Linked DNA regions of Homo sapiens: all the other regions are linked to region 4. Evidence: promoter capture Hi-C in human tissues and cell types (Jung and others, 2019). All regions are on one chromosome and are shown on one strand. The core of a region is centred on a gene start or on the middle of the fragment in contact, and the rest is flanking DNA. Distances in the headings are between cores, read along the strand shown.

The links. The method cuts DNA at HindIII sites, captures the fragments that hold promoters and counts their contacts. A contact is called where the count stands out against the background at its distance.
Region 1: a contact is called between a fragment that was not itself captured here and the fragment with the promoter of KLHL20 in region 4, in 1 of the 25 tissues and cell types used here (neural progenitor cells).
Region 2: a contact is called between a fragment that was not itself captured here and the fragment with the promoter of KLHL20 in region 4, in 1 of the 25 tissues and cell types used here (hippocampus).
Region 3: a contact is called between a fragment that was not itself captured here and the fragment with the promoter of KLHL20 in region 4, in 2 of the 25 tissues and cell types used here (hippocampus and mesenchymal stem cells).

The regions. Positions count from the first base shown.
Region 1 is chr1:173,246,637-173,253,808 of GRCh38, forward strand. All of the region lies in intron 2 of LOC100506023 (a long non-coding RNA gene), which reads right to left. It also overlaps a transcript of TNFSF4 not described here. Among named protein-coding and RNA genes, the nearest start is that of TNFSF4, 43 kb to the left of the region's middle. The HindIII fragment of the contact is 6,748 bases long and covers 1,960-7,172 here.
Region 2 is chr1:174,033,897-174,040,177 of GRCh38, forward strand. No RefSeq gene overlaps it. Among named protein-coding and RNA genes, the nearest start is that of RC3H1-DT, 15 kb to the left of the region's middle. The HindIII fragment of the contact is 4,399 bases long and covers 373-4,771 here.
Region 3 is chr1:173,449,849-173,457,086 of GRCh38, forward strand. The region is part of intron 1 of PRDX6-AS1 (PRDX6 antisense RNA 1); the gene reads right to left. The region is part of intron 2 of LOC100506023 (a long non-coding RNA gene); the gene reads right to left. It also overlaps a transcript of TNFSF4 not described here. Among named protein-coding and RNA genes, the nearest start is that of PRDX6-AS1, 7.9 kb to the right of the region's middle. The HindIII fragment of the contact is 4,874 bases long and covers 1-3,870 here.
Region 4 is chr1:173,710,085-173,716,890 of GRCh38, forward strand. It overlaps KLHL20 (kelch like family member 20), which reads left to right and starts at 4,897. Exons shown (of 12, transcript NM_014458.4): 1 at 4,897-4,994; 2 at 5,919-5,982. The coding sequence starts at 5,960. It also overlaps a transcript of ANKRD45 not described here. RefSeq lists enhancers at 4,801-4,990, 5,071-5,440. The HindIII fragment of the contact is 13,268 bases long and covers 1-6,806 here.

The sequences.
Region 1 (7,172 bases), core at 4,084-6,583, 460 kb before region 4:
CAATAGTGCTGATGAGTGAAATATTTTTACCCATTTATTAGCACACATACTAAAGTACTAGATGTAAAGATCTTTTTTTCCTCTCAGATCTTAATTGCCACTTATGATAAAGTATGTGCAAAAAATAATAATGCAACCTTGCAACCTCTATTCCTTCCTGGTCCCACACACACCACCACCAAAACAACCTATCAGTGTTAGTCTCTCTGGGTCTTCTGTCCTCCAGATATTCTCTCTTTTGCTTTTCAAACATTCCCAAGTCTAAGACAAGAACTTGCCAAACTTGGCAGTATCTCTACTTTGCCTATAAGGGCTAGATCTTCATTTCTATACCTTTTTTTCCTATTTCTATAGTGCCTCCTTCTTTTCCCAGGGAATCTAATGCCTTAAATATTGTCTCCTCTCCTCCCCTACCAAACCTTGTCTCAGAAAAAGATGAATAAACTCTATCAAAGTTTATATTGGCAATAAAGCAAAATGTGTCCTCCTACTCAGGGATGGGTGCCCTTTTAAGAGGGGATTCTGACCAATTAGTACTATCTGTATGGGCTGTCTCTGGAGGTAAGGAGTTCCCTGTCACTGAGTATCACTGCAACTAGCACTGGATAACCCTTAACATAAAAAATGAAAAAGAGAAGTTAAAGCATAGAAGGGTGAGTTAGACTAGATACGGTGTGAGATTTCCTCCAAACCTGTGGCTCCATGGAAAAGCAGAATACAGAGTATGTTCTGAAGGAGGAGGGAGAGAAAAGATACATCTGAGCTGAGTTTTAGTGAGTTTTTTTTAAAGATTAAGAGGAAAAATTATAAATTCTAGGGGGAACTGGGCCTACCCAAGATTCTCAACTGAGGGCATTGAGCAGAAAGGAGAGAAACTTAAACCTCAGCCAGTTGAAAATAGTGGCCACTGAATTCATCTTTTCTCTATTTCATAGTTTTACCTAGAGCTAAACAAAGTTTCGGTTATCTCTGACCCAGTTTGGCATTTTTTATTTTTTTTGTTTTTTAAAATCATCAAAACAAGGAAAAGATGGTAGAGATTAAAATGCTACATGTCTACATGTCTTCAGTGATGTAGGAAAGTATAAGTTTATTTGAAAACTTGATCCTACTTGTCATTCAAATGATTAACTAATTAAAAAGCTATTTAATTTGTCCCTACTATGTGCCAAGCTTCGTGATACATTTATGAATAGTTGGATATGGTCTCTGCCATCTCTGAGTTTATAAGCCAGCAGAAATGATAAGACTTTTAAACAAGAATTTATAATAAAGTGAACAAGTGTTACATTAAAGAAGTTCAAAGCCCTTGTAGCCTCATAGCTTACTTAATGAAGAAGAATAGAAAGTGTCCAGGAGAAATGAATATTTAAGCTGATGAACAGGACTTGAGGGGTGAGTGTTCTAGATAGATAGAACAGCATATGAAAAGTTCCAGGCCAGGCGCAGTGGCTCGCACCTGTAATCCCAGCACTTTGGGAGGCCGAGGCATGTGGATCACGAGGTCAGGAGATTGAGACCATCCTGGCTAACACTTCGAAATCCCGTCTCTATGAAAAATGCAAAAAAAATTAGCTGGGCCTGGTGGCACACGTCTGTAGTCTCATCTACCCAGGAGGTTGAGGCAGGAGAATTGCTTGAACCTGGGAGGCGGAGGTTACAGTGAGCCAGATTGCACCACTGCACTCCAGCCTAAACAACAGAGTGAGACTCTGTCAAAAAAAAACAAAGGAAGAAAGAAAGAAGGAAAGAAAGAAGGAAGGAAGGAAGGAAAGAAAGAAGGAAAGAGGGAGAAAGAAAGAGAGGAGAAAGAGAGAGGGAGAAAGAAAGAAAAAGAAAGAAGGAAGGAAGGAAGGAAAGAAAGAAAGAAAGAAAGAGAAAGAAGGAAGGAAGGAGAAAAGAAAAGAAAATTTCACGAAAGAAAGAACAAAGGAAGAAAGAAAAGAAAAAAGAAGTTTCACATGGGAGAGAGACCTTTTCAAGATGCCAAAGAAAATTAATCATGGTGGGATTATAAGTGGGTAGAGAAAAGACAAGAGAGGCAGGCGGGAGCCAGACACATGAAATATCTTGTAAGTCATGTTACAAATTTGGAGCTTATGGTAACAGCAATGGAAAGCTGCCAAAGTATGCTGAGCATACTCCCTGTTCGTCAGTGCACCTGAGAAGCCATTCGATAGCTAACTATCCTATATATACGGCATCTAGTGGCTAAATTGAGCTCTTTATTTTAATCTACTTGATTATTTTTTATTTGTTCTATGAAAACTTTTAAAGGTTTTCATTAATGGGATTTTAAGTAAGAACATGACATAATAATTTAAGTTTTAGAAGTTTTACTTTGACAACAACATGAATAAAAGATGAATGAGTAGCCAACTAAAGGAAAGAAGGTAAGAAAGGTAAATACGCAGGTTGGGGAAACAGTGGATGATCTTTTAGGAAGTAGAGTCGACAAGACTTAATTAAGTAGAAGGGAGGGATAGGGAGAAGACCAGAGTTAAGGATGAGTTTCTGGCTGGGACAACTGAATTCATGACAGGACCATTCTTCAAGGTGGAAAATACTAGAGAGTGAGCAGGTTTGCAGAGGCAGAAAGAGGTAAGCTCAGTTTTGAACATATCAAAATTGAGATACATTTTAAAGCAACAAGAGGACTTGTGAATGCCGAAAAGTTGACCTAGATATCAGGGAAAAGATCTTTGTTAGTCTCTGAGGACATCTCTCATATTAACAAAATGCAAGCTTGAGGGAACTATCCAAAAATAAAACTGTCCATTCAATTTCTACAATATCATAGCAAGGGAAAGCTATACTCTTAGTGTCTCTTAGAAAGCTACACTCTGGTAGAGCTAAGTGTTCTGTTCCTTGTGATGTCATTCTTTTAGCAGTGCCACACCCAGTACACCACAGGGTGGGAGGACACAAGAAAAGGGCAAAACTCAGCTGGGCTGTGAAGTCAGTGGGTGGACCTGGGCAGGGCACTCATGACTTCTGGAAAATAGCCTAAGTCTACCTAATTCCCAAGCACACAGTATATTAACAGTTCATGTGCCAGGACACCACAGCTTCCTGCCTTTAGCAGCAAGACTACACTCAGTACCAACACTTAGTATTAAATCTGCCTAAAGCCTTAGTAAAAATGGAGATAATAATAGTACCTGCTTCACAGAGTTCGTGAGCAGGAAGAGATAATGCATCATTAACACGAACCATAGTTCTTGACACACAGTCAACACTTAATAAATATTGGGTGATACTGGCAGTATCGATGGTAGTCATACTGATAACTCATAAGAATAATATGTTCTATTTCCCCCCATGGCACATGTTTACCTATGTAACAAACCTGCACATTCTGCAAATGTACCTCTGAACTTAAAATAAAAAAAAAAGTTCCTGAACCTCTTAAATCTTCAAATGTGTACTTTTCCAAAGAAAATTTAGTGCTGAGCATACTCCCTGTTCGTCAGTGCACCTGAGAAGCCATTCGATAGCTAACTATCCTATATATACGGCATCTAGTGACTAAATTGAGATCTTTATTTTAATCTACTTGTTTATTTTTATTTGTTCTATGAAAACTTTTAAAGGTTTTCATTAATTTTACCATTTAACACATTAATAAAATGTAGGTGAATTCTTAGTTTAACTTATAATTTAGCTCATCACCCTGAAACAAATTTCAATAAATTGAACAGATTATACTGAAAGAGAATATAGAAATAGAGGTTAAGAGACAGAAAATCATGTCTTATATGTACAAAGCTACCAGCCATACTGTCTTATTCATTTCAGTATCTCCAGTTTCATTTTTTGTTTTTTTGTTTTTTTTTTTTTTGAGACGGAGTCTCGCTCTGTCACCCGGGCTGGAGTGCAGTGGCGCCATCTTGGCTCACTGCAAGCTCCGCCTCCCGGGTTCACGCCATTCTCCTGCCTCAGCCTCCCGAGTAGCTGGGACTACAGGCGACTGCCACCACGCCCGGCTAAGTTTTTGTATTTTTAGTAGAGACGGGGTTTCACCATGTTAGCCAGGATGGTCTCGATCTTCTGACCTCGTGATCCGCCCACCTCGGCCTCCCAAAGTGCTGGGATTACAGGCGTGAGCCACCGCGCCCGGCCTCTCCAGTTTCTTAACACAGATCTCAATAAATATTTTTTGGAGGATTGAAGGGAGAGAAGTAGTATGAGATCTGGGGCTTTTAAGATCAAATGTCTATTGAGAGACTAAACTCCTTAGGAATCTCACCAGAAATAATATAACTAATATAATAGGAAGACTAAAATTATGCATAGGTGGCCTGACAATGTTTCTCAAAATGTAGTCCCCACATCAGCACCATCCATGTCACCTGGGAACTTGTTAGATATGCAAATTCTGAGGCCCCACCTAAGACCTATTGAATCAGAAACTGGGGATGGGGCTAAGCAGTCTGTCTTAAGCCCTACAGGTGATTCTGATGAACACTTAGGTTTGGAAACGTTTGAAAATGAAGGCACAAATACAGTCCATAGATACTATAAAGCCGCCAGGTGTTTAATATGGCAAAAACTAGGCAGATGTGTGCATTTGGTCAAAATAAAAACAGCTTTGCTCCCAGAATTCTACCTTTGCCTGGCATACTTCACACCATTTAACTGCAGGTTCTGTACAGGCATCTAAATTTTCACTTCTTGTTAATTGCCCAAGAAAGAAATCTGAAAAGAAATCTTGTTACAGAAAAAATTGAAGGGAAATTGAATTAATCTTTGAGCCCCTTGATAGCAGAGACTGATCTTGTTCATTATTGAACCCCCATTTTCTATGACAGTGCCTAGCACATAGTACTCAATACCTATTTGGTGAATAGATGAGGCAATCTCACATGTGGGAAGGGCTGACCAAGGTGGGCCCTCAAGATGTCTGAAAGGGGCCAGGGGGAGGGTATGTGAGGAAGACATGGTTTCAGTCCCAGTTCTAGCCCTTGCAGCTGTGTGACCTTGCAATAGTTATTTAATCTAAGTGTTATTTTCCTTATATGTACAATAGGGATGGTAACAGTTTCTATCCCATAGAGGTATTCTAAGGATTAAAAGGGAAAATACATATAAAGGACACAGCAGAGTACCTGGGAAATTGTCAATAAGTGTTAGTTCTTATGGTTATTGTGATCATTTTTGTGGTTTTTACAATGACACTACTGTGGAGGAGTCAATGCTTAAGACTAAGGCCCCTGTGTCAATTGCCATTATAAGGATTTGTGCCTACCCTATATGGCAACCTATTTTCCCTGGAAAGAAACACAGGAACGTGTCCTTTGTTGAAGTCCTTTCTAGAAGACAGAGAATTATGATTGGAAAATAAGGTAAATGCCCTGTTATTGTGTGGCTTGAATTTTAGGCAGGTTTTAGTTGGCTAACTAGATCAAATGTTTTATGTTAATAGATGGTTTTAGTTGGCTAACTAGATCAAATGTTTTATGTTAATAGATGGTTTTAGTTGGCTAACTAGATCAAATGTTTTATGTTAATAGATAATACTGTCAAAATACTGATTCTTCCACTTTTTATAATAGTTCCAGTCCTCAACTCTCATGATAGAAAGAAAAATAGAAAAGAAAGGAGGGAGGGAAAAAATAAAGTCTTCCAGAAAGTCTATCTTACAAGGTAAGTCCAATTTTCAATAATTATGTTGGAAGAACGCTTAACAGCTTAATTTTGGATCTCTTGATATAGCTTCATATAATCTTCATACAAATCTAATCAGAGATGTGAAGCTCTGATTGTTGAAATTATTAAAATACATAATTATTTGCTGAAATTAAATATAGGGAATTCCTTAAGGAGCCTTTCCACCATTTTTCTCTTCCTTTGAGATAATTATCTGTGCAATACTAGATATTAAATGGTTACATACTCACTGCACTTCTGCCCTGAATCTAGGTTGGAAGAACGTTTACTTGCCTTGCATAGGAAATTTCTCAATGTCTATATTTACTGCAGGTTGGCTTGGACTACAATTAGGGAACAACTGTTCCCACCAAAGTAGGATGTGTGGTTCATAACTGTGAAGAACCCATGCTGAAGGCTGATAGAAAGCAGCAACTCAGACATCAGGGGGAGCACTGATCAGGAGTGAGAGCAAGAGAAATTTCCCCAAATGAACAAGGAACTGCAGCAGACTTTTCACAGAACACCCTGGTAATAGAAAACTTCCATAGAAATTTCTGGTGAAAATTATACTTACGATGTATTTAAGAGTTTGCAGATGAAATGATTACAAGCTTCCTTCTAGCAGGATAAGTTTCAGAACTTCCTTGAAATCTTACATGCCTCCCTTCCATGGGCTCAGCCATGGTCAAACTATAAAAGATTCCCATCCCCTGTACTTCCTTGCATTTAGGAATATTTTCAGGTTTTTTCTCTTAAATCCATTCACTCTGTCTTACCAGAATTTTTGGCTGACCCTTCAATTTTGGTCAATGTCTTGCTTTTCCCCTGTTTATCTGGACTTGATATTTTAGACCTTCTCTCATAGGCAACTCTTCTGCAGTTTTCAGCTATCAGGCTTTTTTTTCTTCAAGCCCTATACTTGTATATTAGTCATAACCATTCCAACCACAAGAGCTCAGCTCTAGTATCCCCATTTATCTGGGAGGGAGGTCAAAAGTAAGAATCCTCAAACATAAGTGAACGAACTTAGAATAGAATACAAAAGGCATATGGCAAAGAAGAAAGCCGGCAGAAGCTAGAGGAACAGGATCCATAGTAGACCAGTGACTCTGCCCCATGCCGTGCTGGCAAAGGGTTCTCCTAGATACTTGGTAAGAGTGTGAGTATTCAAAAAAGTAAAGTTGGGAGTTGGAGAAGGGGAGTAATGAAGAAGACATAGGCCTTGCAATTCAACCTTAATAACACAGACAAATTGAGGCAAAAACATCAGGACCTGGCAACTGTTTTCTCATTTGATTCTTGCCTGGTAACAAAGAGAGAACTGAGCTATGGGTTAGAGGGATAAAGCCAAGACATATGAACGTCTAGTTTCTGCCCTACTCTGGTATGGGGATTGTGGACAGAGAATACTACATAATGCTGTGAAGGTAGCTGGATAAGCTCCTCTGACGTTGTGGGGTTTTCCTGCTAAAATTGAACCAAGCATATAAATTAAAGTGAGATGAGTTTTTTTCTATTAG
Region 2 (6,281 bases), core at 1,322-3,821, 320 kb after region 4:
TAGCAGCGCTGGTACCAAGAGTCTGGTGGGACATCAGAGTCTGATGGCAGCAATCCCTGAGGTGATGGCCAGCATCCACTGGCAGTGGCAGTGGTACTCTTATCAGGGCATTTCAAGGCTGACATTAGCTGTGATTCTGGCTATCTAGGTTCTCTCAATTCCTGTTCTTCATAACTGTGAACTGCCTGGGCGCGGTGGCTCAGGCCTGTAATCCCAACACGTTAGGAGGCTTGAACTCAGGAGTTCAAGACCAGTCAGGGCAGAACAGCGAAACCCCTTCTCTACCAAAAATATATATAAAAAAAAAAATAGCTAGGCATGGTGGTACATGCCTGTGGGCCCAGCTACTCAGGAGGCTGAGGTGGGAGGATCACTTGAGCCTGGGAGGCAGTGGCTGCAGTGAGCCAAGATCAGGCTACTGCACTCCAACCTGGGTGACAGAGTGAGACCCCATCTCAAAAAAACAAAACAAAACAAAAAAACTTTGAGCTACTCAGTTTGCTCCTAGTAAATTCCTATTCTGCCTAAGTTAGCCACTGAGATAGTTTCACCTATAAGGAAGAGTGTAGAAATCAAGGGACTGCAGAAATAATCTATTTTTCTATTTCCCATATAGACACCCTTTACTCAGTTTAAAGGACTTATCCATGTTTTTTCTTTTTCTGTGCCCTGATTTTTATGATTGCAGTTGTCAGAGTCTCAAAACTTCAAGGTACATCTATATCCATTTCACTTAAATTGAAGTGAAGGTATCCTAAATGACATGTTTCCTTCTGTTAACTCAGTTCATTTATTATTCCCAAATAATAAGCCCTCCTGTCAAGCTTTTGATTTGGACTTTTTACCCATCTGTCAAGAATGTTCAGTGTCTACTTTAAAACTAATATTGCACTAATTTCTCAAGGGGAAAGTGTCCATATCAATTTCTCTCTTAGTCAGGATTTATATCCTAGGGGAGAAAAAGAAGAATAAAATAATCTCTTCCTTGGCTAAAAACTATTACAAAAAATAAATGTTTTTTTCTTGAATTCCTAACAAGAATTTTTCTTTTTTTCTTTTTCTTTCTTTTTTGAGACGGAGTCTTGCTCTGTCACCCAGGCTGGAGTGCAGTGGCGTGATCTCGGAAGAATTTTTCTAATCAAGCATTTCATCTGGGGCAATCAAGCAATCAAAGCCTTCCTTGCTGAAATTACATGGAAAAAGAATTATTTTCTACATTTTTGCAAAAATATTTTAACTACCAAAATTGAAATGTTCATTTATGGTTTTTTTTTCTGCAAAGATACTTAACCTTGTTTCTGCAACATCTAATTGAGTCACAAATGTTCTCAAGTGATGATATAAAAGTCACAGAACAAAATTAATTCGTATTCACTTTATTACAACCACAACAAATATTTGGTAACCTCCTATGTGCCACATAACACCACAGACATCGTGCTATTTTTTTTGTTTTTTTTTTCCTGTCACCCAGGCTGGAGTGCAGTGGCACCATCTTGGCTCACTGCAACCTCTGTCTCCCGAGTTCAAATGATTCTCATGCCTCAGCCTCCCAAGTAGCTGGGATTACAGGCGCCTGCCACCACAACTGGCTAATTTTTGTATTTTTAGTAGAGACAGGGTTTCACCATGTTGGCCAGGCTGGTCTTGAACTCCTGACCTTAGGTGATCCGCCCACCTCAACCTCCCAAAGTGCTGGGATTACAGGCATGAGCCACTGCGTCTGGCCGTGCTATGTTGATATAACAGTAAACAAAACAGACAGGGTCTCTCCCTCAGAGGCTTATAGTTTAGTGTGGGAGATAGAAGACTTATAATTAAATAACCACAAGTATGTTAAGTGTCCTGAAGGCCAAAGTACATGGGGATGTTTAGCAGTAAGAATTGACCTAATCTGATGAACAGAGAAGGTTCCTCAAGAAAGTGATGTTTAAGCTGAAGTGAAAAGATGAGTAGGAATTAGCTAGGCAAACGAGGGGTAAAATGTTTCAGGGCAGAGGATAGCATGTGCAGTATCTCTGAGGTAGGAAAAAGTGTGGTATATTTAAGGAACTAACAGAAATCCAGTTTGGCTGAAGAAAGTATACAGATTCAGAGGGAGCCTAGCAAACAAAGAAGATGCCACAGAGGCCAGCAGGTAGACCTTGGAAGCCAAAGTAGGAATTTCAAGCTTTATTTAATTTATTTTTTCAATATCTTCAAATCATTTGAGCTTTATTTTAAGATAAGTTTGCTAGATAGTGTACAGGATGTTAAACTAATTTATATTTTAAATAAACAATAGTATTCTAGTATATGTCCCAAATATTGCATGGAACATAAATTGAAAAAATTATCCATTATTTTTATTTATCTATTTATTTAGGAGATACAGGGTCTCACTCTGTCTCACTCCAGGTTGGAGTGCAGTGGCACGATCATAGCTCACTGTAACCTCAAACTCTTGGGCTTAAGTGATCCTCTTGTCTCAACCTCTTCAGTAGCTAGGACTACAGGCAAGCTCCACCTCACTGGGCTATTCTCTATTTTAAGAGCAAAGTCTGAAAGGCTGAAGAGGGACATGGCAAGATTTCCCTGTTGGCCAGGCGCAGTGGCTCATGCCTGTAATCCTAGGATTTTGAGAGGCTGAGGAGGACAGATCTCTTGAGCCCAGGTATTTAAGACCACCATCATAAAAAGAAAGCATCCCCCACATCTAGAAGCTTTATACTCATTATATTGAATCTTTACAATACTAGAAGATGGATATTATTACTGCCGTTTTACAGAATAAGAAACTGAGGTTTGGGATGGTTCAATAACTCACTCCAAATAAAACAGAGTAAATAGCAGAACTAGGATTCAAAGCCAGTTATACTCATTCCAATGTACTCAGTCTATATTATAACAGTACTGACTCTCTTAGATATCTCAAGTAAATTTAGCCAATCCAAAGCTTGAATGGCTTTCTCTTTTTAATGATAGTAATAACCAATTTGACTCAGTTAATCATGAGATACAGGGCTGGTCCTGAGACTGTTTACCTCCAGATCCATTTCTTGCTTTACTTGATCCCTGATTCACAGTAAGGACTGGCCTTCCTGTGTCAGCTGCCTTCCTGGTGTGTTTGGCTAAGAAGGAGGAAAAAGAAGCCAAGTTACTTCTTGCTGATTCTCTTCCTCTTGCTTCAGGTGGAATCCTGGGCAACAGCTGTTTCCTTCATGGCCCCACCTGAGGCTGAGCAGGCTTCCACCAGGAAACCCTAGTCCCTGGGCCCCAGTAAAACATTTTCCTCTCTTTGTCCCTTTAAACTAGTGTTGTTGGTGGCTAATCTCTGGATTGCCCCTCCTAACACCTATGTAACTAATTCCGTACATCAAACATTGTCTGTTTTAAATATTTAGAGTATCTTCCACAAGCCTGATAGGACCCTGGTATGGACATTGTCTTGGCCAGTGTCATGGATAGGATATTGCTAGTTTGGACTGAAAGACCTCTCTTCTCATTCTGATAATCTCTAATCTTACTGGTGAGAGCCTAAAAATATTATTATTATTTTTATTTTTAGCTTAAAGCTTTGAATTCTGTCATTGATAATACCACCAAACATTTTTACATGCTTCAAATATAATCAAAGAACAGGGCTGGGCATGGTAGCTCATGCCTATAATCCTAGCCCTTTGGGAGGCCGAGGAGGGTGGATTGCTTGAGCTCAGGAGTTCAAGACCAGTCTGAGCAACATGGTGAAACACCATCTCTACAAAAAAACACAAAAATTAGCCAGGCATGTTGGCGTACGCCTGTAGTACCAGCTACTTATGGGGCTGAGGCAGGAGGATTGCTTGAAATCTGGGAGGTCAAGACTGCAGTTAGCCAAGATGGCGCCACTGCACTCCAGCTTGGGTGATCAAGTGAGACCCTGTTTTGATATATATACATATACATATATTTATGTATATATATTCAAAGAACAGTCTGTTTCACTGGAAGGGCTAATTGTACCCACAGCCTCTTTCTAGGGAAATCTTTAACAATGCGATATCCTTGGGTATCAGAATAAGTGGATGTGTTTGTTCCTCTTGACTGGACCAGGTGAGTGCCATTGGCCCAAGAACAGCAAACGATTGACTGGCTGGCTTCCTATGAAAGAACTTGGAGTGAGAGCTTTGTCATCAGGTCCTTAGCAACAATCTATCTGGTATTTGATCTATAGATTTAGGGGGTCAATTAGTTGGTATTAGGAGCAAGGGCAGAAAGTCACCCTGAGAGAAACAGAATCGTAGAGAAAAGATACGATGTCAATAGCTGAGCACTCAGGAAATGTCAGCAAGTTCTTGCAGCAGAGGGGATGCTTTATTTGTGCTGAATCCTGAAGAAGTTTTTAGTTCAGAAACCACAGTATTGACTCTGTCTAGTTCAGCTGTATTCAGATTCACATTATTCCTGTGTGATCCAGTGATCTTGCCATTTCCTATTTTCCTGGTTGGCTGAGATTTGTGGCTAAGATTCGTCTTTATTTTCTTTTTAAAATTTCCCTGAATATCTTTTTAGTAAACCGTCTACTACTTGATATAATCTGAGTGTGCTTATGTTTCCTGCAACTGATATAAAAACCTAAAACAGTTTTTAAGGCATCTTTAGATTTTTTCCATCCTTTTTTTTTCTTTCTTTTTTTTTTTTTTTGAGATTGAGTCTTGCTCTGTCACCCAGGCTGGAGTGTAGTGGCGTGATCTCGGCTCATTGCAACCTCCACCTCCTGGGTTCCAGCGATTCTCCTGCCTCAGCTTCCTGAGTAGCTGTGATTACAGGTGAATGCCACCACGCCCTGCTAATTTTTGCATTTTTAGTATAGATGGGGTTTCACCATGTTGGTCGGGCTTGAACTCCTGACCTCATGATCCACCTGCCTCGGCCTCCCACAGGGCTGGGATTAAAGGCGTGAGCCACCGCACCCAGCCACGACCGACTAATTTTTAGTAGAGATGGGGTTTCATCATGTTGGCCAGGCTGTTCTCGAACTCCTGACCTCAAGTGATACGCCCACCTCAGCCTCCCAAAGTGTTAGGATCACTGGCGTGAGCCACAATGCCCAGCTAGCAGCTAATCTTAATTGAGTGCTGAGGTTGTGTCAGGCATTGTTCTGAATGTAATAACTCATTTAAATTCTTAAACAGCTTTATAAATTGGTATTATTATTATCACCATTTTACAAATGAGGAAATGTAGGAAAGAGAAAGGTTAAGTTATCGCCCAGCAGTCACTCATCAAAACTGTGGTAGAGCTGGAAATTGAGCTTGGCAATCTGCTGCAGGATCTGGACTGTGAAGTCATCCTGCTAAAGAGTAGGAGGAAAAACTGCCCAATATTGTTGAATATGCAAAAACATATTTTCCAGTATACTCAGTGGAGATTTTGGAATCAATCCAAGAGATCAGTTTGGTTTTGACCTTCATAAGAGGTTGAAGACTCAGAAATATTTACTGGGCTGAGTGCAGTGGCTCATGCCTATAATCCCAGCAATTTGAGAGGCTGAGGCCAGAGGATTGCTTGAGGCCAGGAGTTTGAGACCAGCTTGGACAACATAGTGAGATCCCTGTCTCTACAAAAAATAAAAAAAAAATTAGCCAGGCGTGGTGGTGTATACCTGTAATCCTAGCTACTCGGGAGGCTAAGGCAAGAGGATCACTTGAACCCAGGAACTGAGGCTTCAGTGAGCTATGATCGTGCCACTGCACTGCAGCTTAGGTGACAGAGTGAGACTCTGTCTCTAAAAACTAAATAAAATATAGAAATTTATTGAAGGTTAGAGCGAATTAAAAAATTCATCGGTGTTCTAAATCACCCAAAGAATATATGGGATACAATGTATTTCGATACCCTAGGAAAATAGCCACCAAAAAAAGCACATCCTTGGGTATTAACCAAGAGTTTACTTGTATTACAAACAACTTTATCTACTGAACAATTGGAGACTGTCTTTTTGTAGGCTGAGAGTAAGCATTGGGCCAAGCTTAAATCAGCTCTTGTTCATAAGGAGATAATGAAGGCTGGGTGTGATGCTGGCTCACACCTGTAATCCCAACACTTTGAGAGACCAAGGTGGGAGGATCACTGGAGCCCAGGAGTTCAAGACCAGCCTGGGCAATGTGGCGAGATCCTGTCTCTAAAAAAAAAACAGATCTTGAGATCCAGCAACACCTTTGGACACTTATTTCTTCCCTCAGGGGTTTATGTAATTTGTCCTGCATTCCTTTGTTCTACACAGTTGCCACCACACCATCTATGTTTCTCCTCACAAGGCT
Region 3 (7,238 bases), core at 184-2,683, 260 kb before region 4:
AGGATCTAAGCTTGCAAGTGACAAAACTAGAAAAAGAACAGAATAAACCCAAAGTAAGTAGAAGGAAGGAAAGTATTATTAGAAGACCAGAACTCAAATAAATTGGAAACAGAAAAACAATAGAGAAAATTAATGAAACTAAAAGTTGATTATTTTAAAAGTTCAGCACAATTGATAAACCTCTAGCCTGGATGACCAAGAAAAATAAGATGCAAATTAGAAACATCAGAAATGAGAGAAGAAACATCACTATTAACCCCACAGACCTTAAGAGGATAACAAGGGAACAGTACTATGAAAAGCTGTTTGTAAATTTGACAAAATGCACTAATTTTTAAAATTAAAAAAAATTACCAAATTCATTCAGGAAGAAAAAAGTTTATGTTAAAGCAATGATTTATTTCATATATATGTATGTATAACTTTTAAATTGAATTTGTAGTTTAAACCTTCCAAAAAGAATTCTCTAGGCCCCAGTGGTTTCACTGATGAAGTTTACCAAACATTGTGGAAGAAATAATAATTTTACATAATCTCTTCCAGATAAAGAAGAGGAAGGAACACTTCTCAATTGATTTTATGAGATTGGCATTACCCAATAAAACCAAAGACATTACAATTAAGAAAATGTCAACCCAATATCCTTTAAGAGCACAGACACAAAAATCTTATAAAATATTATCAAATTGAATCCAAAAATATATTTAAAAGATATTAATAATATGGCATGATCAAGTGGGGCTTATCCCCAGAATGCAAGGCTCACTCAACATTTGAAAAGCCATCAATGTAATTCACCACGTCAACAGTCTAAAAAAGAATAATCACATGAATATCTTATTGGATGAAGAAAAAGTTTAGAATAAATTCAGTAATCACTTCATGATAAAAAAAAAAAAAAAAAAAAAAAACTCCAGCAAACAAGAAAGAGTAGGGAACTTCCTTAAACTAATAAAAGGCATCTATGAAAAACCTACATCTAACTTTATACTTCATGATGAAAGACTAATGCTTTCCCCCTAAGACTGGGAAGAAAAAGTTGTCCTCTCTTGACACATTCGACAGTGTACTGAAAGTGCTAGCCAGTGTAATAAGGCAATAAAAAGAAGTAAAGGATATAAATATTGGAAGGGAAAAAGCAAAAATATATTTATTCATACATAGATAACATGTTCATGTAGAACATTTCATTGAATCTACAAAAAGCTTTTAAACTAGTAAGTGAATTAGCAAGGTGCCAGCATATGTACAAGTCAATATAAAAAAGTTAATTATATTCCGATATACCAGCAATGAATAATTGAAATCTGAATTTTTTTCAAAAATACCACTTATAATAGCACCAAAAATAAGGAAAATATTTAGTTATAAACAATAAAATATGTGCACAATCAATTTGCTGAATACAAAAGATTGATGAAAAAGTCAAAGAAGATATAAATAAATGTGGAGATACAGTATTCATGGATAAGGAAAATTCAATATTGTTAAAATGTAAATTCTCCTAATCTACAGAGTTAATGCAATTCCAATTGAAAATCCAAAGGATTTTTGTAGGTTTTTTTGTAGATTTAGACAATTAAAATTTTATATGGAAAACCAAAATAACCAGATTAGCCAAAAGAAAGAAAACAAAACATAACATTAGAGGTGTCATACTACCTGATTTCAAGACTTTATAGTAGTCAAGATCATGTGGGATTGGCAAAGGAAAAGATAAATCAATGAAATAGAATTGACAGTCCAGAAATAAACCTTTGTATTTATGGTCAATTGATTTCTTTAAAGATGTAAAAGGAATTCAGTGGAGAAATTATGGTATTTTTAACAAATGATACTGGAACATTTGGACATTCAGATGCACATAAATTCATACATACATATACACACAATACATGCATACATACACACATACATACATATGAAGAATAAGCCTAAACTATATGTCACACCTTATACAAAATGAACTCAAAATGGATCATAGACTATAAAGTCTAAAGCTAATAAACTTGTAGAAAAAGAAACTATCTTGCCCTTCCGTGTCTTTTAAGAAGTCTTTTCTTTTTTTACCCCCTTGAAAACCCTGTAATTGCCTCACCTGGAGCTGATGCCTCACAAAAGAGAGGATGCCCACTCTCCTCAAAATCTACCCCAAACACTTCTTATTGCCACTAGACCCATAACTAGAGTCCAATTTCAACATGTTCCAGCAGCCTGGAAGTGGCAGCAGGTCTCTGAGTATAACTGTGGCACTGAGCCCAGGTTCCCAGATTTGTCTCGTTCCACTTGCTCTGCAGAGTATGAGCCAATATAAACTAAAAGTGATGTCTTTACTAAACACCTGTTACGAAACAGCCTGAGGTGTAGATATCTCTCATCTCTGGCCTTGTTTTCAGCATTTTTCCTCCTTGGATCAACAGTTTCTGATACCAGGTTAGGTTACAAGGCTGGAATAAAAAAACAAACCCCAGCTTGGAAAGGAAGGTGAATAAGGTAGTCACTCTTACTTGTTTGTTCTCACAGAATTTGTCCACCTGACTATTGAAATACCCAGTCTAGCTTCTTAGTTTTTATTCATGGCTGTTGGTATTTATTAAGTAAGCATTAACAGACTTATTGGGCAAGTAAAACATAATGTGCTAGGCAGCCACAAGAAAATACAAAGCCAGAGTCCCCAACCCTCAAGAGTTCATTCTAGACTAATCGTAAATACATGGCTTTATGTTTTCAGATTATGCTTAATGGAGCCACTCCGAACCATTTTCTTCTGGGTGGCACACCTCTGCGTAACGAAATTTTCCAGACTTCATATGGGCAAGGTAGCTAGGCAGAGAGAATGACCTAAAACTAAAATTGTTTCAGAGAGAAGTAGGAATTGTACTAATTAATGCTGGAGCAAGACAAAGATAGACTTCGAAGGGGCAGATGGCTACAGCTTAGTGTCTAACATTATGGAATTGATCTCGGTAGGGCACCTAGCATTGCTTCTACTACTCCCATGCCTCTAACTGTCCCATAAGCAGGTGCTGTTAGTGGCAAAGGCAAAATGCAGGAGTGCAGCCCACCATGGCTATAAGAAGTACTCAAAATCCATATCTTCCTGCTTTGGGATAGCTGAATCTCAATAGACAACAATTATTTTTGTAACACACTTAAATAATGTAAGAGAAAAAATAGTAAAGAAGAAATGTTTAGAGAAAATGGAATGACAAATGAGCAAATATAGGAAAAGAAGTCAGGGAAAAGAACATCACACTATAAACTCATCAATGCTTTATACCAGCACCTTGCACAAAGTTTAACTTTGTAAATTGTCTTAAATATTAAATACCTAACTTTATATAAAAAGGCAACACCAATATCATCTCTTCTCAGCGCCTCCAAACAAAATTATGTACTTTGTTTTTTCTAATTAAATTTTTTTTTTTTGAGACAGAGTCTCACTCTTGTCACCCAGGCTGGAGTGCAATGGCACAATCTCGGCTCACTACAACCTCCACCTCCAGGGTTCAAGCGATTCTCCCGCCTCAGCCTCTCAAGTAGCTGGGATTACAGGTGCCCACCACCATGCCCAGCTACTTTTTGTATTTTTTTTTAATAGGGATGAGGTTTCACCATGTTGGCCAGGCTGGTCTCAAACTCCTGACCTCAGGTGATCCACCCACCTCAGCCGCCCGAAGTGCTGAGATGACAGGCATAAGCCACTGTGCCTGGCCAGAATTATGTACTTTCAATTGTTTATCCTCCACTAGAGATGCTTCTCTGTGAATTAGTTACACATCTTTATGAGTAACTACCTTTATCACCTACCTTTATGATCAGGTTGTTGATCTGAGAGATGGGACTATGGAACAGAGGAAAATTAACAGGTGCCCATTAGGCCTCAAGCCACAGTTGAGTTTTCAGTGGGATTGTACTCTCAGCTAATGAGATGGAAATGAAAGCTGAGTGCTTACTGACAAGAACTGACTTCATACCTAAGTGGGCACACAAAAACCCCAGAGGTGTAAGAGTAAATTCTGGGCTTCTAATCTGCCAATCAAAACTTCACAAAGGGTTGTGATTGTTAATTGTAAAATAAACCTATCTGCCCATGGGGACTCTTGGGAAACAGCGTTACTGACTATATAACACATGTAAATACTCTGTTTATATACTTTAATTGTCTAGCCCTCTGTAAAATGAAACAATTTAGTTTAGGGACACTTGAGCTCAGTATCTAAAGACTAGGACAAGCCCACATTCCTTCTCCTTGGAAGAGAGATCTTCTTTTTCAACAGCTAAAATGCAGCCATTTGCTAAAAATGACTCAGCACTCAGAAAGCTCAGGAGAACAAATCTCAGAGAAAGGGGCTGTCCCTGCCAGACACCCCATTTCTCCCACCCAAGATTTCTATGCCATGTATCACCCATACAGCCAGAAAGCTAGAAGTATATTTATTTTATAAGTGACAAAGCAAGGAAACAATGCTGAGAGGTCCAGAATTGAACAATAATCACCATAGATATGTTTCTTTGGGGAGAATTCTTCTATGTAAGAGCCTTAAAATTACCTCTCAAATTTACTTTTTGAAACCATGGTGTTGAAAGGGACTGCTTGAGAATCTGGAACCCGGTGTTTGGTGAGGTTATCTTGGCCCATACTTCCTCTGCATAGCAAACAGTGACTCTTTGGAATAAGGGGCAAACTTGGGACTCAGGGCCAGAGTTATATTCACAGACTGGCTGCCACTTCCACACCACTGGAATATGATGACAATTGACCCTAGTTATGGGTCTAGCAGCAGTAACGGGTGTTTCAGGTAGGCTCCGAGGAGAGTGAGCATCCTCTTGTTTGTGAAGTATTTGCTCCAGGAGAGGCAATTACAGGGTTTTTGAGGGGAGAAAAAAATTCTGCAGATACACAAGAGCAAGATACTCCCACTGGCAAGGGAGACTCAGAGCAACTCAGGGGTTCAAGATTCTCACTCTCACTTGAGACCAACCATATGTGCCCATTTCAAGTTTTGGGGTCTCCTTCCCAATCAATGACCTAACTTTCACATGAGAAACTTGGCATTAATTTCCCAAGAAAATTACTGATGTTGTAGTTCTGCAACCTGTAAAATTAAATTTTGTGTTTAATTTTTAACAATACCAACCCTGTGGCTACAAGACATAAAAGATCCTGTTAGGGCTGCCATGGAAGTCCTCTAGTTCTCAGACCGAGAACTAAACCAAGAGCTTAAGGACCTGAGCTTTTCATCTTCTGTCTGTAAGCACTCCACTACACTCAGAAATATCCATCCTATGCTACAGTCCTTGCAGTGATCACTACTGCCGTTAAGAGTCCAGTGTCCGGTCAAGAGACAGAAACCACACAGTAATTCAAATAAAGAAAGTATAATCATGAAGAACTGTTAACTTGGTAAAAAGGTGGTTAACCACTAAAAAGGATAAAAGAGAATTGTATGGTGTAATAGAGGTGGCAACCTCAGACTACAGCTATCACTCTTAAGATGAAAGGAAAGGTAAACAAGGAGGAAACTTAGAAAGAGAGAAAGGACTCCAGCAGACTAACATTTGGGCCTCTAAGGAGATGGTTCAGCTGGTGCAGAAACATGTCACCCACTGCTGGGGTGAAGAAGAAACCTCCGGGGGACATTCACTTGCTGGAACCACAGGAACAATTCACCACCACAAGGAATACTGCCGGGGCCAGGTATGTGCTGACCCATTCACTGTCATGTGGAGAAGGCAAAAATAACAGGAGAAGATAAATCTCTTTTTCCTTCTCCAACTTTGAGAATCCCTTCAGCACTCCCTTAGCCCCTAATTGGCTGAACCTAATATAAAGCCAGATATCTGAGAAAAAAATGTAGTTTGCAGTGTACATCTCCAGTATCGTGAAGTAGGACAAAGAAAGGTAGTTTGGAACTAAGAGGAAATAAATTAATAATAAGCATACTTGAATATAGAGGCTAGGAGTAAAGATGGGGAAAGGCGAACAGTTACAATATATGCTTTGGAGATAGAATCGCTTGGACTTAGTGTTAAGGCTCCTGTGGGAGGGGAGTAAAAGGAGGAATCAGGATGATCCTTCTAAAGAGAAAGGGAAAATAGTATATTCATTTGTGGATGGAATGAGTTTGTTGTGGTTAGAAAGAAAGAGAATTAAGAATTAAATTTTGAATATATATCAAATGTCTGTGACATATTCAGATCAAGGTGTCAAATTGGCAGATAGATGGCTATACAAATGTTGAGCTTGTCTGAAGATAAAAATTAGCATCAACAGCATATATATGTTATTTAAGGGCGCTGGACTAGATATCATCTCCAGAGAAACTACAGATAGAGAAAAGAGCCAGAGAACTTCCTGAGACACACCAACATTCAGAAGTAAGAGAAGAGGTGAAACAGAGAGAGTAGCCAGTGAGAGGCAAACAAACAAACAAAAAAAAAAAATAGGAGAGTTTGGTGTAACGGAAGCAGAGAAAGAAGTGTTTCCAAAAAAGTAATCAACTCTGTCAAATGCATTGAAATTGAAGAAAAGCTTCCATTGGATTTTCTTTTTTTTTTTTTTTTCCCAGTCAGGTTCTCACTCCGTTGCCCAGGCTGGAGTGCAGTGATGTGATCTCAGCTCACTGCAGCCTCAACCTCCCAGGCTCAAGTAATCCTCCCACCTCAGCCTCCCCAGTAGCTGTGTCTACAGGTGCACACCACCACGCCTGGCTAATTTTTTGTATTTTTTTTTTTTTGTAGAGATGGGATTTTGCCATGCTGCCCAGGTGCTGGTCCCAAACTCCTGGGCTGAAGTGATCCACCTACCTTGGCCTCCCAAAGTGTTGGCATTACAGGCATGAGCCACCACACCCAGCCTGGATTTAACAAGATGTATTTCAATGTATGAAGGAAGAGAAAGAAAGAAACATGAACAGAGAAATAAGTGGTAGGAGAAGGAAACGTTGGGTCAAACTAGAAGTTTTAAACCTGAAAAAATATGAAAACTAAGTTGTCTAATATAACAGCCACTAGCCACAGGTGGCTGCTGAGGACTTGAAATGTGGCCAGTATACCATATGTAGAAAGCTGAAACTGGATCCCTTCCTTACACCTTATACAAAAATTAACTCAAGATGGATTAAAGACTTAAATGTAAGACCTAACACCATAAAAATCCTAGAAGAAAACCTAGGCAATACCATTCAGGACATGGGCATGGACAAAGACTTCATGACTAAAATACCAAAAGCAAT
Region 4 (6,806 bases), core at 3,647-6,146:
GAGGCCAAGGTGAGAGGATCACTTGAGCCCAAGAGTTCAAGACCAGCCTGGGCTACATAGTGAGAACTCGTCTCTACAAAACAAACAAACAAACAAAATAGCTGGGCATTGTGGAACACTCCTGTGGTCCCAGCTACTGAAGAGGCTGAGGTTGTTACCGGTGGTGAATCCATATGGGTCTGCAGCAGCCTCAATTCTTGCCTCCTCAGAAGAAAGAATTTGACTGAGGGGCATGAAGCAGAAGAGATGGAGGCAAGTTTTAGAGCAGGAGTCAAAGGAAGGAAAGTACATGTGGAACAGGTCCAAGCAGGCAACTTGAAAACAAGTGTGAAGTTTGACCTTCTGACTTAGCATTTTATATGCTGGCATGCTTCTGGGGTCTTGCATCCCTTCTGCCCTGATTCTTCCCTTGGGGTGGGTTGTCCGCATGTGCAATGGCCTGCTAGTGCCTGGGAGGGGAGCATGCAGAGTGTGTTTACTGGAGTTGTACACATGCTCACTTGAGGCGTTCTTCCCATTCTGGTGGAATGCCCCTGGAAGGTCATATACCAGCTAAACTCTGCCATTTTGCCCTTTAATGCACATGCTGGAGCCCACTCACCCAATTCCTGAGATCTTATTGAGACGCTGCCACCAGTTTCAGGTGTTTTTATCTACTGGGAAACTGCCTTTCCCTGGTGCTGTTTGCAACCAATTATTATATTAGAGAGGCAGCGTGACAACTGCCTGACCATCACCCGATGGTCACCTGACATTCCTGGTGAGGTGCGGGAGAAGCCCTCTCCTGCCTTGCACATGCCTGGCTAGCCACCTACTGTAACAAGGGGAGAGGATCACTTGAGCCCAGGAAGCAGAGGCAACAGTGAGCTGTGATTGCACTACTGCACTCCAGCCTGGGTAACAGATTGAGACCCTACTTAAAAAGAAAAAAAAAGAAGAAGAATGAAAATTCCACAAACAATGGGCCCTGTGGGTCTCACCTACAACTAAACCTTAGGTCCAACCACTGTATTTTATACATTGGAAACAAGATATAATTTTTGATTGAAAAACTATAAGGTAAGCTCAGCAACCCCTGAAAAGAATTATTTGGCTGTTGTCACTACCTCATACCTGTGAACCCCGAAAATCTGAGACAGGTCTCAGTTAATTTAGAAAGTTTATTTTGCCAAGGTTGAGGATGCACCTGTGACACAGCCTCAGGAGATCCTGATGACATGTGCCCAAGGTGATCAGACCACAGTTTGGTTTTACACATTTTAGGGAGACATGAAACATCAATCAACATATGTAAGATGAACTTTGGTTCCGTTTGGAAAGGTGGGACAACTCAAAGCAGGGAGAAGGCTTCCAGGTCATAGGTAGATAAGAGACAAATTGTTGCATTCTTTTAAGTTTCTGTTAGTCTTTCCAAAGGAGGCAATCAGATATGCATTTATCTCAGTGAGCAGAGGGGTGACTTTGAATAGAATGGGAGGCAAGTTTGCCCTAAGCAGTTCCCAGCTTGACTTTTCCCTTTAGCTTAGTGATTTTGGGGGCCCAAGATATTTTCCTTTCACACACCCAATCTAAATAAAATCTATTTCATGTGTATTTTCCACTAGAAATTCAGGCTCCCGAAGGGCATAGTCTTACTCAGGTGGCAGAAAAACTGTAATTACTGCAAATGCCAGGTTTACCATAAACACATCTCTAAATGGAGTTCTCTAGGTCTTGACATAAATAAAAAGGGTTGATTCACACTGAACTTCTCCACTTCAAAAAGAAACAGAGTAGCAGAAGCACAAACCAGATTGCAGTGGGTTGGGGAGTGAATCACAGATATACAAAAATAGGAGGGACTGCTCTTATCCTGGACAGGAGTTTTAAAATCAGTCTTTGGTTAGCAGCATTTTTAGTAACATTTTTATACCATATAGTAACATTTTCATACCTATACTATGAATTATAAAAATAGTTTAATTCATATTACGGAAAAAATAGGAGTCACTTTGAAGGTATCTTTTACAATAAGCAATTCACAGAAGGGAAATCTGAATGCCACTTTCACATATGAAAAATGTTTGAACAGTAATGAGAGAAATAAACATTTAAACCACAGTGAATTACCATTTTATACCCAACCAATTGGCAAAAACAAATTTAAAGTTGGAAAACACCAACTGTGATGATAATATAGACCAACAAAAACCCTCAAACACTTGTAATGGAGAGACAACACAGCACTGTAGCTGAAAGCACAGACTCTAGAGCCATTGTGTATGGTTTCAAGTTATTGCTCTACTTCATAACTAGCTGTGTGACTTTGGGCAACTTACATAACATCTTGGTGCCATCTGTGAAACTGGAATGATGATAATAGATCCTACCTCGAGAGGACTAGTGTGAGTATTGATGAGTTACTATAACATGCTACATAAGTATTTGCTAGTATTATTATTACTGAAATAGAATAATGACTTTAGAGAGCAATTTGACTAGTGCTAATACAGTTGAAGCTGTGCATAGCATACAACCCAGCAATTTTGCTTCTGCGTGCACACCCCAAAGAAACACCTACAGGTGTACACAAGGAGGTATATGCAAGAATTTACATTGTAGCACTGTTTGTAATGGAGAAAACTGGAAATAGTCAAAATATCCATCTGCAGAAAAAAATGTTTTAAAAAATCTATGGTATATTCATATAATAGAATACTATAAAGCAGTGAAAATAAATAAATTAGTGCAGTAGTTCTCAAATTTTACCATGCACTATAATCACCTGGAGAACTTGTTAGAACACAGATTACTGGGGCCCACCTTCAGTTTTTGATTCAATAGGTCTGTAATGGGGCTCAAGGGTTAGCATTTTCCAAGTGATGTTGATGCTGCTGGTCCAGGACAACACTTTGAGAATCACTGAATTGGACCTTCATTGATCAACATGGACAAATCTTACAAACAGAATGTTGAGTGGAAAATGGAAGTTGCAAAAGAATACATATGCTTTGATACCATTTATGAAAAGTTTTAAAATATGGAAAAGAAATCATTTTACTGCATATGTATATATATCACATATACACATGCAGTAAAAATTTTCAATAAGATCACAAAGCTAGTCAGTTACAGGTCTAGGATTTGTACCTATGTGTATCCGTGAAATCGCCTTTGCAAACTGAAACCCCCTTTGCAAAAATTCTATCAGTGAGAAAATTATAGCAGTGGAGGAGATCTGATCTAGCCAAACCCCATCTTGCCTTTAGCTTTCAGTCTGTCCTTAATTATTCCTGGGCTTAAGCCAAGATAACTTTGGGAGACATTTAGTTTAATAGTTTAAATAATTACAGTCCTTCCCCAAAACTCAATTGCCTTTGTAAAGCTAATGAGAGACCACCAGACAACGGGGATAGATGAGCCTGAATTCTGTTAAGTGTAGACATAAGTGATTGCCAGCCATTATTCCAGAGGTCACAAGATATGCAACTTCCCCAATTACTCCTACAGATAACATCACTATTGTAGAATCTAGGATTGGCCTTTTTGGGTATATTTTTAAGTTTTTTGCATGTTTGACTACTGATGGCTCCACCTGGACCCACCAACTGTTCCTGTGGCTCCACCCAGAAACAACTCAGTAGGCAGGAGGACCATCTCCCATACCCCTATGACTGCACCAGTCAGCAGCAAGCACCCATTGCCTAGCCACCCCTACCCCTTTCCCCAGACTACCTTTGAAAAGAAACCTAGCCCCCAAATGCTCCAGGAGGCCGATTTGAGTAATAATATAACTGATTTGAGTAATAATAAAACTTCTTCCATTTTTCCACTCGATGTTGTGTAAAACTCTTTCTCCATTGCAATCCCTATACCTTGATAAATCATCTGTATCTGGGCAGCAGGCAAGAAGAATCCACTGGGCCACTATATCTGGATCTAAAGGCCATGTATTTTCCACTACAAGCTAATTAACAAGAGGTATCCTTTCCCCTCAGAAACAACTGGACACACCTGTGTAGATTCTACATAAAGAACAGCTAAAGAAAATCTGGTTAATACTTAGCCTAGTATACTTACCAGGAAATCAGCAACAGTCTTTCTCTGATATTCCTGAAATTGTAATCCCCACCTTACACTTGTATCACTTGTTTTCTAAATATTAATATACGGTAAAAATCAGGTGGCTGTGTGCTATGGGAAAATCTGGAGGAAAAGATAATTTTAAAAATATACTTTTTTGGCTCTGCTTGCTACTGAAAAAAAATTTTTTTAAGAAAATATACTCTTCCCTCCTTAACATTAAAGTGAATCCACAGAAGATGTGTTTGGTGAAGTGTCTGGTGGTGAATACTAAGTAGAAAGGGCAGACTAACACAGCCTTAGAGCCTGGATAAAATCCTGGTGTCCTGAAAGTTTGACCGTGGGAAATCTGGAGGATAAGGTCTATCTCTGGTCTGTCTATCTAACTTCTGCACCTTGCACATAGTAGAGGCCTGACAGATACATGCCAACCCATGTGTGCATGCAATAATTCAATCCACAATTAGGAACATTGTGCCAAAAGGAGACCCACCAACTAAAAAGAAATACAAATTCTTAGCTTTCTGTGACTACCCTTTACTGCCTTTGCTGGCGAAAACAAAGAAGAAAAGAGGAGGCTTCAGTATTCAAATACTGCCAGTTCCGCAGTGAATTCTAAAAATGGTTACTCTTGGGATACAAGGAACCCCCACGAGGATAAACAACCTCTGAGGTTACCTGAATGCCCCAGCAAAGGGCACGACTACTTCCGGAGCCGCACCGGAACCCCTTGGCGGATTATGTGGGTTCCTGCGGGAACGATTTAAGAATAGGACTACTTCCTGCTTCTGGATATGGGCCGGTGAAGGGAAAGGAAATAGCTCTACGAGCGGCATCCTGCCTGCGTTAGCGGCGGTGGAGGAGGAGGCAGAGAGGAGTGGAGGGCGGAGTAGACGGAGGAGGCTGCTGCAGAGAAGAAAGTGTCAGAGCCGGTAAGTGAGCCAGTCACCTTAGAGCAGGGGACAGCGGACAGCGCCCCAGGGCTCGCTTCGCAGATATGTGGTCCCAAGTTGCTGAGCTGCCCCATGGGGTCAGGTCGGTCGCCTGTCAGTCGGCGCCGAGAAGAGACTGTTGGGGCGCTGGGGCCGGGCCTCGCGGAGCGCCAGAGTGCGCTCTCGCTGGCTGACAGCCTATCTCGGGAGCCAGAGGAGGCCCCGGGCTTTGTCCTGCCTGGTGGTGCTGGGGTTTCGCATCCTGGACAGCTTCCCCAGACAGTGTTTGGAATTCAGGGAAGGAAGAAAGTACGTGCGCCCCCATTTAACCCTCGGGACCTGGCGAAATCCTGCTACGTGGGTAGTGAACATTGTATCGGGGACTGAAGGAAATGCTTGTAAAGAGTGTTAGTCTGGAGCCATACTTTCCCTGCCCTGTTCAAGCTCCCTGGACTGTCGGAAGCGGAGTTGTTTGTAAAGGCAAATGCAGACGCCTCCTCCTCCTGTCACTTCGGGACAAGTTAACAATCTTCAGATTCGTTATTAAAGCCTCGTGTACCCTATGTGATCTATCAGGTTAGTACTGCTGTGGGTATCTGGTGCTTGTTCTGTAAATATACTTGATGTCGAGATCACAGTTAAATATCTCCAAGCACTTTTTGAAGAGAAACAAGACTGACCTAACAGTCGGGACTATTTAGCATACTTTCCCTCACCTTTACTTTAATCGTTTTAGCATGCAGAGTAAGGATGGTAATCTTAAATGTACTAGATTAAGTTATTGTGCATCTGCAGAAGGCCTGTGGTATAATAGGATATGAAACTCTTGATAACTGACGAAATGAGTGAAATGATTATATAAAGATTGTTACTGTAAAGATCAGAAATAGCTTTTATTAAGTTCCTGCTTTTCTGTTGTCTTAGGTTCGGCTTTAGAGTGTGGTGAAGGGTACTTTTCATGGTGCATGGAAGGAAAGCCAATGCGCAGGTAGGCATTTAGGAAGAAAACCTTTGGTTTCACTGATTAAAATTCAGCATGTAATAATTTAAATTTTTAAAAAAGAGTTTCAATCTTACTAAATTCTGCTTGGAACTAATGAGTCTTGTTCTACAATAAATCAAAAGTAATATTAAGAATTAATAGCTTTTTAATAGAATAAAATACAGAAGTTGTTTCTGAAAAGTGCTGTGGATTGTATGTAGTGCTAAACACTTAAATTTTCCTTTTTTCATGTTTTTTACAGTAAATAATCATTAAGTTCATTATGATACTATATGGATTTATTATAATCTTCAGTTCCCTATAAAATGTAGAGGATTCTGTTCCCATGTAAGAATCATAATTATTTATAATATACTGTACTGCATGCCTAATTATGGTTTTGGTTATTTCCTTGATGTTCAATCATACATTTGTTCTGTTAATTAAAATAGCTGCATTGTAGGGAAGATTGTATAAGGACTAAAATAGGTATTAGACATAATAACTTAGTCCATAGAAAAATAGAACAATGTCTGGGAAAATATAGACAATAAATAGGCCCTCCCAACCCTAGAATTTAATAATGTTTTTTCTCATTTTGTTCTAACAAATGAGACTAGAATCTTTATGATACAAAATCATCCCAGTTCTATTTCTTTGGTTTTTACATTTGTTTTCTATTTATTGAACTCTATTTAATCATTTGTTATTTAACATCAAAGATAAACAACTTCTGCAGTTCTTTTAAGAGAAGAAACATTTTATAATGGGAATATGACTTATAACTCAGAACTTGGAGCAAGAACCAGAATGTATATCTTTATCCAAAT